Regions from separate parts of the Homo sapiens genome. Here regions 1 and 2 are each linked to region 3. The links are contacts of gene promoters, found by promoter capture Hi-C in blood cells and fetal thymus (Javierre and others, 2016). All regions are on one chromosome and are shown on one strand. The core of a region is centred on a gene start or on the middle of the fragment in contact, and the rest is flanking DNA. Distances in the headings are between cores, read along the strand shown. Region 1 overlaps LOC105377700 (a long non-coding RNA gene). Region 2 holds the start of CLINT1 (clathrin interactor 1). Region 3 holds the start of FAM200C (family with sequence similarity 200 member C).

Evidence for each region. Contacts are between HindIII fragments. The CHiCAGO score rates a contact against its expected background, and 5 or more counts as called.
Region 1: a fragment that was not itself captured here is called in contact with the fragment with the promoter of FAM200C in region 3 in 1 of 17 cell types (naive CD8 T cells); the score reaches 5.5 in naive CD8 T cells.
Region 2: a contact is called between a fragment that was not itself captured here and the fragment with the promoter of FAM200C in region 3, in 1 of 17 cell types (neutrophils). The highest score is 5.6, in neutrophils.

What each region holds. Positions count from the first base shown.
Region 1 is chr5:163,339,252-163,342,202 of GRCh38, reverse strand. All of the region lies in intron 1 of LOC105377700 (a long non-coding RNA gene), which reads left to right. Among named protein-coding and RNA genes, the nearest start is that of CCNG1, 97 kb to the left of the region's middle. The HindIII fragment of the contact is 541 bases long and covers 1,125-1,665 here.
Region 2 is chr5:157,856,225-157,859,440 of GRCh38, reverse strand. CLINT1 (clathrin interactor 1) reads left to right here and starts at 296. Exons shown (of 12, transcript NM_014666.4): 1 at 296-511. The coding sequence starts at 471. RefSeq lists enhancers at 8-247, 85-666. The HindIII fragment of the contact is 223 bases long and covers 1,729-1,951 here.
Region 3 is chr5:160,398,457-160,401,471 of GRCh38, reverse strand. FAM200C (family with sequence similarity 200 member C) reads left to right here and starts at 1,418. Exons shown (of 2, transcript NM_022090.5): 1 at 1,418-1,833. RefSeq lists enhancers at 1,729-1,878, 1,772-2,457, 2,777-3,015. The HindIII fragment of the contact is 7,568 bases long and covers 1-3,015 here.

The DNA.
Region 1 (2,951 bases), core at 146-2,645, 2.9 Mb before region 3:
AGTAAATTTGGTAGCTGGGAGAGAGGTAACACATCAATAGACAGGTTTCCTTGGATTCAGGACTTTCAGTGGTAAAACTGAGATGATCCTGGGTGTAACAGCATAGTTGCTCACCCTAGCTCATGTGGATGAATTCAGAGAGGACAGTAAGAGTAAACAGCATCCCTTCTCAACTTCCTGCATGCCATATCTGGTTCAATTCAAGGTATATGGACAAGTGTGGCACCAATTTACTTGACTTAGATCGCCTCTAGTTTGTGGCTTCTCTAGGATGAGAGGTGAGGCTTCTATTAAGTCTCAAGTTGCTTCAGAAAAACCAATCGGTGTCCAGGTTATCATGATCAAAATGGCCATGAGAGACATGCAATATGCATTGATTCTTGGCCCAACAGAGCACATATCATTTGGTTGTTAATAATTTGGTCTTTGGGGTCAAAGGGACCTGGGTTTTCACCCCTGACTTCACATAATAGATTAGGTGAGTTACTTATTTCTCTGTTACTTCATCTGTGAAATGGGTGTAATAGTCCCTACATCAAAGGGCTACTATAAAGCCTAAGTACTAAGTGCTTTATATTCTTACTATCTAAGTGTAAAGCACTCAGTACAGCACCAGCCTCATAGCAGAAGACCAATTAATGATAGATAGATGCCATCCTATGATAAAGCTTTCCCATCTGCTTATGTGGGCTTAATGATAATACCTTAATATTTTCTAGACACAACTCTAGGTTTGAGGAGAACCCAAAGGTGTACATGGTCCAGAAAATAAATGAATTTGATTAAGACAAGCTAGTACATAAAATATGAGAAAATAACTCAAATTTAGAGTATTTTATGCACCCATTGAAGTCTGATAGGGTTGTACATTGTATGAATTATTAAAAAGCAATTCAAATCTGGAATGTTTGTGATTAGTATACTTTTACTGATAAAAGATAACTATAAAATATAAACTTATAATTTAAAATCTTTTTTTCCTAAAAGATGTACCAGTATGGTACCTCATATAAAAAGTACCTTATATAAAACCTGTCTATTAATATATTACATCTCTCCCAGCTACCAAATTTCCCTTATGCCAGCTGTCTTTCTGCCTTATATAAAAATTATTTATATAAGCTTTCCTGAAGATAGGAAAAATAATTCCATGCCTCAAAGAATTAATATAAATTCATTGTAACTGTCTTTCCAATTTATTGACAATAATTAATGTTAACTTTGATGGGAATATGATTACTGTTATCTACCTAAGTGAGTATATTCATTTCCAGAAAAGCAGATCAACCAGGTGTTTATGAACCATGAGTTTGCTGCAGCATTAAATGGGAGGTCTGCTAGTGGGTTTTGCTCTCCTTTCTGCTCCTAATTATCTGTAGTCTTAAACAGGTCACTTGTGCTCTTGTGTATAACTTTCTCATTTATTACTTTTATTTTGGGGGGGATGGGAGAATGATAAAATGACATATTAAATGTTTACTCTGGGCTGGACATGGTGGCTAATGCCTGTAATACCATCACTTTGGGTGGATCACCTGAGGTCAGAAGTTCAAGACCAGCCTGACCAATATGGTGAAATCCCATCTGTACTAAAAATACAAAAATCAGCTGGGCATGTGTCATGCGCGTCCATGTGTCAACAGGCTTTGTGTGAGCAATAAAGCTTTTTAATCACCTGGGTGCAGGTGGGCTGAGTCTGAAAAGAGAGTCAGCGAAGGGAGATGGGGTGGGGCAGTTTTATAGGATTTGTGTAGGTAGTGGAAAATTACAGTCAAAGGGGTTGTTCTCTGGCGGGCAGGGGCGGAGTTCACAAGGTGCTCGGAGAGGAGCTTCTGAGACTCATTGTCCAGGAGAAGGAATTTCACAAGATAATGTCATCAGTTAAGGCAGGAACTGACCATTTTCACTTCTTTTGTGATTCTTCAGTTGCCTTAGGCCATCTGGATGTGTACGTGCGGGTTTGGGCTCAGAGGCCTGACATCCCTGTCTTCTTATATTAATAAGAAAAATAAAACAAAATAGTGGTGAAGTGTTGGGGCGGCAAAAAATTTTGGGGGTGGTATGAAGAGATAATGGGTGATGTTTCTCAGGGCTGCTTTGAGCGGGATTAGAGGTGGCCTGGGAACCTAGAGTGGGAGAGATTAAACTGAAGAAAGATTTTTGGGTAAGGGGTGATATTGTGGGGTTGTTAGAAGGAGCATTTGTCATAGAATGATTGGTGATGGCCTGGATGTGGTTTTATATGAATTGAGAAACTAAACAGAAGACACAAGGTCCGAATAAGAGAAGGAGAAAAACAGGTATTAAAGGACTAAGAATTGGGAGGACCCAGGACATTCAATTAGAGAGTGCCCAAAGGGGTTCAGCATAATTACTTGCTTGGTTGGTGAGTTTTTGGGCTCTATCCTTGAGTTTTTTTTTTTTTTTTTTTATGTTGTCATATACCAGGCCAGGTTGATTTAGGTAAAAACAACACTCTTCATTTAAAAATATACGGAGTCTTTCTTTTTCAGCATTGAGTAAGTCGAGGCCTCAGCGGTTTTGGAGGAAAGCGAAATGCAAAGCCAGCAACTGTTTGTTAAAGAAGGATTAGAAATGGCTAGGAGAGAGTGAGTGAGATTGATAGTGTGGTGGAGATAGCCGGGGAGAGGTAAAGGGTGGAGAATAAGAGTGAGTATAAAAGAAAAGAATAGGACTTCATCAGGGTCAAAGTATTGGAGAGTGCCCTGTCAGCAAAGATCATCTATCCACTCCAAGAGGGAGTCAAGAGTGGTGGATTGAGGATAGTACCAGGAGATATCCTCTACGATGGTTTGGAGGAAATGTGTAAACCAGCAACGTAAACAGGGGCAGGGCATTTATGACTAGTTGAGAATGGTGAATAGGAGTATGACTAGACAGAAGATAGGAGGGATGACAAATTTTTTGGTGTGCAGTCCAAGTAGTGGGGG
Region 2 (3,216 bases), core at 591-3,090, 2.5 Mb after region 3:
CCTGCACCAGTGGTTCTGAAACTTGAGCGTGATCAGAATCACCTAGAGGATTTGTAAAAGCACAGATCGCTGGGCCCCACCTCCAAAATTTCTGGCTCGGTAGGTCTGGGGCCGGGGACTGGGAAAGCTTAAGAGAAACCATCCCAACTCCTCTCAGCTCTCCCAACTCAACCTCTCAGCTCTCCCAACTCAACCGGCCGAGCTCGGCACTCAGGGAAAACTACAAGTCCCGGCGTGCCCCGCGCGCAGCGGCGGAAAGTCGGACACTTCCGCTCCACGCAGCGCCTGTGCTGCCGCGTCTCGACGTGTCACCGGCGGCGCCGCTGCTGTGGCAAAGGAAGGAGCTGACTGGGGGAGTTCGAGGCGGCGGGCGGCGGTGACCCCGGCCTGGAACTGCCCCGGTACGGAAGTGTTCCGGGGTCCGTGGGGAGCAGGAGAGGGAGGCGGCGGACCGTCCCGCGCGGGGCACGATGTTGAACATGTGGAAGGTGCGCGAGCTGGTGGACAAAGCGTGAGTATCGGGGGGCAGTTGTGGCCGAGGCCCACGTGGGGGAGGGGGGAGGGGGAGAAGGAGCTGGCCTTGGGCTAGGGGTTGCCCACGTCACGCCCCCTGGCTCTGCCAGCCCCATCATGGCGGCGGCCCGCTCCTTCCCGGCCCCGGGCCTCATCCCCGCTGGCGAGGCTGGGGAGGGACCCTCCCTCGTTTTAAAAAAAAACATCCTCTTGGCCACCCTTCTCTCCTTTCCAGGCCTTCCCGTCCCTTCCCCTATTCCAACCCCTGGGTGCCGACGCTTTGGTCATAAGGGGCGGGTTGTTTGGCGCTGGGTCACTGCCCTGGCCGGAGGACTGTCTTGGCCCCAGGCCGTGGGCTTTGCCTCCTGGGGAGCAGGGAAGGTTTGGGGGTGGGGGGCACAATGCACTGGTTCCCTGTGTCCCTCAAGGTGTAGTACGGAGAGACCTTAGACCTGGTTGGGGTGTGTCTTTTATCTTCCTTGCCTCCTCTTAATTCCTAATGAACCTGAAGTGTTGGAGTGGGTGGTAGTAGTGTAACAAGTGGCTATTGTGGTCAGCCTGAAGTTACTCAAGAAGACACTCATCCTTTGCTTTTCTAACACTAGTGAAAGTAGATCACTATATGACTTCTTGCGATTTTTTCTTCTGTTTCTTTTTCCACTACACATCATTTTTGGTGTGCTACTTGTTCCATTCGATTAAATTAAGAGGTCATTAAGAAATGTCCTCTTAAGGAAAAAAACAACCCAGGTTTATATCCTGTTGATCTGCTTTTAAAAGCAGGTAAAACGACCAGTACGTAGTTGATTTCCTTTAAGACTGAAATAACTTTAGTCTCTTACTTGCACAAGGAAAACCTTAACTTTTAAAATGAGTATATCAGGTATAACAGTGGTTAAGTAAGGTCTTCTAGGCCAGCAGGAAATAAAGTTTAAGAATTTAAGCAGTCCTCTTCCTTTGGGGCTTTAATGATTATGCAATAAGTGTGGTGAGAAAAACAGTTGATTTGTGCCACCCACCTAACCTAAAATCAGGAAGTATAGATAGCAAACTGTTTTCTTGACACCAGGAAACAAAGTAATTTCCAGTGCCTTGTCTGATACATCAGATAGAACTTAGAGCTTGACCATATTTTTATATTTTCTGTGCTACCAAGAAGGCAATAGAGTGCCTAAGGAGCACAGGTTTCAGAACCTGCAAAGCTGGGTTCAAGCTTTATAACCTTGGGGAAGTTACTTATCCTCACAGTGCCCTAGTTTTCTCTGGTACAAAATGAAAATGCAACGATACCTACCTTAGAATGTTGTTGTGAGGCTTAAGGGTTAAGGGATTGTATTGCATATAAAGCCCTTAACAGAATATGTTTATATTAGTGTACTTTTGAAACTAGCAAATGTTTTGCATTTAGAGTGAAATAAACCTCTTTAAGAAAGAAGCTTCAAGTTTGAAAAGTGATTTGCTTTAATAATTTTCCTTTATAACAACTCATTTGGCTATTAAGGCTTCAGCTATTTATTTCGGACTATTTAGCTATTTATATATTCTTTGCTTTTGCTTACCGAAGATGAAATAAACTAGATCTTTTCCAGATCTAGGTTCATTGGCATTTTTTTAGTATATTGTGTAAAGATTAGGATATCAACTTAAATAGTTTTTTAAAGGCCAAAAGAAGACTAAAAGCTACCTTTTTTTTTTTTTTTTTTGATGGGGTCTCATTCTTTTGTGTGTTCATAACTCACTGCACCCTCCAACTCCTGGGCTCAAGTGATCCTCCCACCTCAGCCTCCCAAGTGGCCAGGACTACAGGCATGCATCACCGTGCCTGGCACTGCCTCCTTATTTCTCAGTCAGAGGTCAGAAGAATAAAACCATTAAGAAACACCTTGTTCTCTTAGAGGACCAAATTTGTGGTACTCAAAAATTTGAAGAGGCTGTACATTGTTCGTAAGACAGAAATCGAGGCAATATTCCTACTATTGTTGTACCTTTCATATTTGCTTATCACACTTGTTACTAATCTTCACGTGCTTTAGGTTAAATTTGCCATGTAAGTAGTTATCTAAAGGAAAAGCTATTGTTGAAAAATATTATCTATCTTTTTACTACCCAATTTAGGATGTAGACTTGAACCAAATTATTCAAGAACATAGAAGAATGTTGTCACCAAAGACTTTTTAAGGCTTTTGTGGGTGTCTGACACATATTAAGATTAGAACATGAGGTTGATTTACTGATGAGTACTCGGGATTTTAATTTTCATCTTTTCACTGGCAAGAAGAGAAGAAATTCTTCCCCCCAAATGTAAGCATCTTACAGAACCGTGGATCTGTTAGACTGTGCACCTTATAATGCCATAATAGACGTGCATCCATAGAATGGTTGGTCTGATTATCAGAGGTATAAAATGATGAAGGAACTTGCAAATGAAGAAGCAGTGACGTGATTAAGGGCTATTCAGATAGATGGATCAATAGAATGAGGGCTTCTATGAGAGAAAGGTTAGGGGTTTAACTATCTGGTTCATATTCTGGCATTACGTTTTTAATTAGCTGTATGTATGATTTGAGGCAGAATCACATGAATCTCCAGACTTTGCCTTCCTTATCTGTAAAATGAGGGGACCTGGCTAGAGTAAGACTTTTTCCACCTTTGATGGCTATTGGAGAAATGCATTTCCATCAAGGAAAAATAGTTGGAACTAGT
Region 3 (3,015 bases), core at 169-2,668:
AATTCTGTAATATCCAGAATCATGTCTTCTGTTTTATTTTGGAAAAGTAATGCCTAGCCAGCCTGGCCAACATAGCAGAGCCCTGTCTCTATGAAAAATACGAAAATTAGCTGGGCATGGTGGCACACGCCTATAATCCCAGCTACTCAGGAGGCTGAGGCATGAGAATTGCTTGAACCCGGTTCAAGAAGTTACAGTGAGCTGAGATTGCGCCACTGCTCTCCAGCCTGGGCAACAGAATGAGACCCTGTCTCAAAAAAAAAAAAAAAAAAAAAAGAAAAAAACATAATGCCTAGGACATTACTCAGATTGAGCTTTGATTTTATTATCTCAATAATAGCTGCCTTTTGAGTGCGAGAATTATGTACTGTAATTGTCATAATGTTATCTCCTTCCTCAAAAGAATTTCATGGGGTAATGGATGATATGTAAGTTTTACAAAAAGCACATGGAATTAACTCCAAGTAACCTGCACAAATCCTAACCGTTGGAGTCAGGACATGAAGCTAGCTGTGGGATTCTGAAGCCTACCCCTTTCTCTAGTATTGAAGGCCCTAATTTCTTGACCAACAAGGCTGGTCTTTAGCAGTTTCTTCCATCCACAAAAAACTTCAGCAGCCCGTCAATATTTACCAGGCTCACCCTTAACACCTGAAAATGATGTATCTGGCCCACATTCGTTGACGCCCCACCACTCCTCACACACACTAGTCTTATGGAATGCTTCTAACAAGATTGTACAAAAATGAGTAAACTCATTAAGTTTATAAGAATTCTGGAAAGACCCCCAAACAGGAAAGGGCTATATTCCGGTTTCTTTCAACAACGTTTCCTAGTTTCTACTTGGGATTTTTCTCTAAAACCTCTCTAATATGGGTTTATTTCTTTGAAATCATGTTGTTGAAAGAATTTAAAATAAAAATATTTCAGATATATGATGATGACATGGAAATTCATCCCTATGCTCCCACTTACGGAAAGTGGGATCAGCTTGCATAGGCAACAGTACACAAGCTATGGAAGCTCATCCTCCACTGCTGAAATGTCTAATCTGAAATTACAATGAGCTTCCTTCTCTTTTTCTCTCATTTATTCCACATGGAACATGGCAATTATCAGGCGTTTTATCTCCAAGCTCAAAGCCCGACACAATATAAAAGTTTAAGTGCTCTGCATGTTAAAAAGAACTATGTGGAGTTTACAGCCCCTTCCATTCCTGAAATTGTACAGTTCATCCTCTCTGGCAGACACAATAAACAAACGATTTCTTGTTCCACGTACACAATCTTAAAAAAAAAATTGGGAAGGGCTAGCGCGCATGCTCAATACTCAAGCCAGCCAGCCCATCCCACAGCCCTTTGCTACTGCGCCTGCGTGTGGGAGACGCCTCTCCCAGTTTGCGGGCGGGAAGCACCCTGGAGAACCCGGATGGAACCCGGGCCTGGCTGAGGCGGAGGTTGTTGCGGATGCTTCTCTCTCCAGGCGCACCGCAGATTCCTGCCCGGGGGTTGGACCCGAGGAACCGCCGTCTCTACTGGTTCCGACGGCCAGAGGCTGGGCCCTAGGCTGAGCGGAGAGTGGGACTGGAGCCTGAAACGGGCGCCTAAAAGAAGCCCGTGCATCCCATAGGCCTGCGCCTCAGGCTTGGAGACGGGCGGGCGGAGACCGCGCTGAGTCTTTTTTTTTTTTTTCCTAGCAGCTGGCGTTCTTATCTCACCCGGGAGGCTGTAAAAATCTCCGTCCTTAACAGTAACACCATCAGGTCCTATCAGTTAAGAGCTGCTTGTTATTTGCATGCATTCTTATAATTAAATCTCCTAACAACCCTGTAAGGTAGGTACTGTTATCCCCTCTGGAGGAACTGAGGCTTGGAAAGGTCCCATCCTGTAAGTGACAAAGCCACGATCCCAGGCGTTTGCCCCTGGAGCGTCTGCCCAGCCACCAAGTTCCTGCCCCCATTCTCCTGGCTATTGATTTTAACTGTAAAATGTAATGGTTAAATGCTCTGCCTCCCCAGACACCTGCGCCTATCATGATCTTGCATACGCAGTGGCTAGAAAGAAGTTGAATTGTATTTGGTTTGGAGTTTTAGGTTTACAGCTGCACTTTGGTGTTTTCACTGCTGGAATATATATATATTAGCATTCCCTAAATATTTGTTTTGTGAGTGTTCACTTTTAACTGATTTTTCTCATTTGTAATACTTTTTCATATCTACCCTTCATAAACTTGCAAAAACATTTTACTTTGTTATATCAGATCTTTCATTAAGCATCTGAAGATAATCTCTCAAAAGAATCATGCTTAAAATGAGTGATATCTATCTTAAGATAATGCTTTTTATCTTTTTATTATGGAAAGTTTCCAAAATACATTAAAATAGAACGGTGTAATGATGTATACCCATCATCCAGCTTCAAGAGTTACCAACTTAAGGCCAGTCATTTCTTTTATCTCCACCCCGCTTTGTGCATGTTTGTGAGTGTGCTGAAGTACGTATTTCAAAGGAATCCCAGACATCTTATTTCACTTGTAAATAATTGTCTGTATCTAACAAATGAGGACTTTTTAAAAACACAACCACAATACCATTATCATGCCTGTTTAACAATATCTCCTTATCATGATGCTTTTTAATGTTTACGTTTTTTAGGATATTGTAATTCCTAAATACCACAAAAGCGCAAGTGCAAATTGTGAGGTTCTAAAACACAAGCCTCTTGGGCAGTAAGTTCATCTTTGAGGCCCTTGAAAATTCTTGCCACCTGTTCTCCCTTTTTGAGGGTTATGGAGAAGAATACTTTAAATTGATTTTCCTAAAACTGTTCAAAACAGATAAATTTTAAATTAAAATATACTTGAGAGACATAGTCAAGGTGGATAGGAATGGACTCTTAACAGATCTTGTAATGATTTCCAGTTTGTTTTGTTTTTGAGACAGAGTCTCACTCCGTCACCCAGTCTGGAGAGCGCAGTGGCATCATCTCGGCTCACTGCAACCTCTGCCTCCCAGAT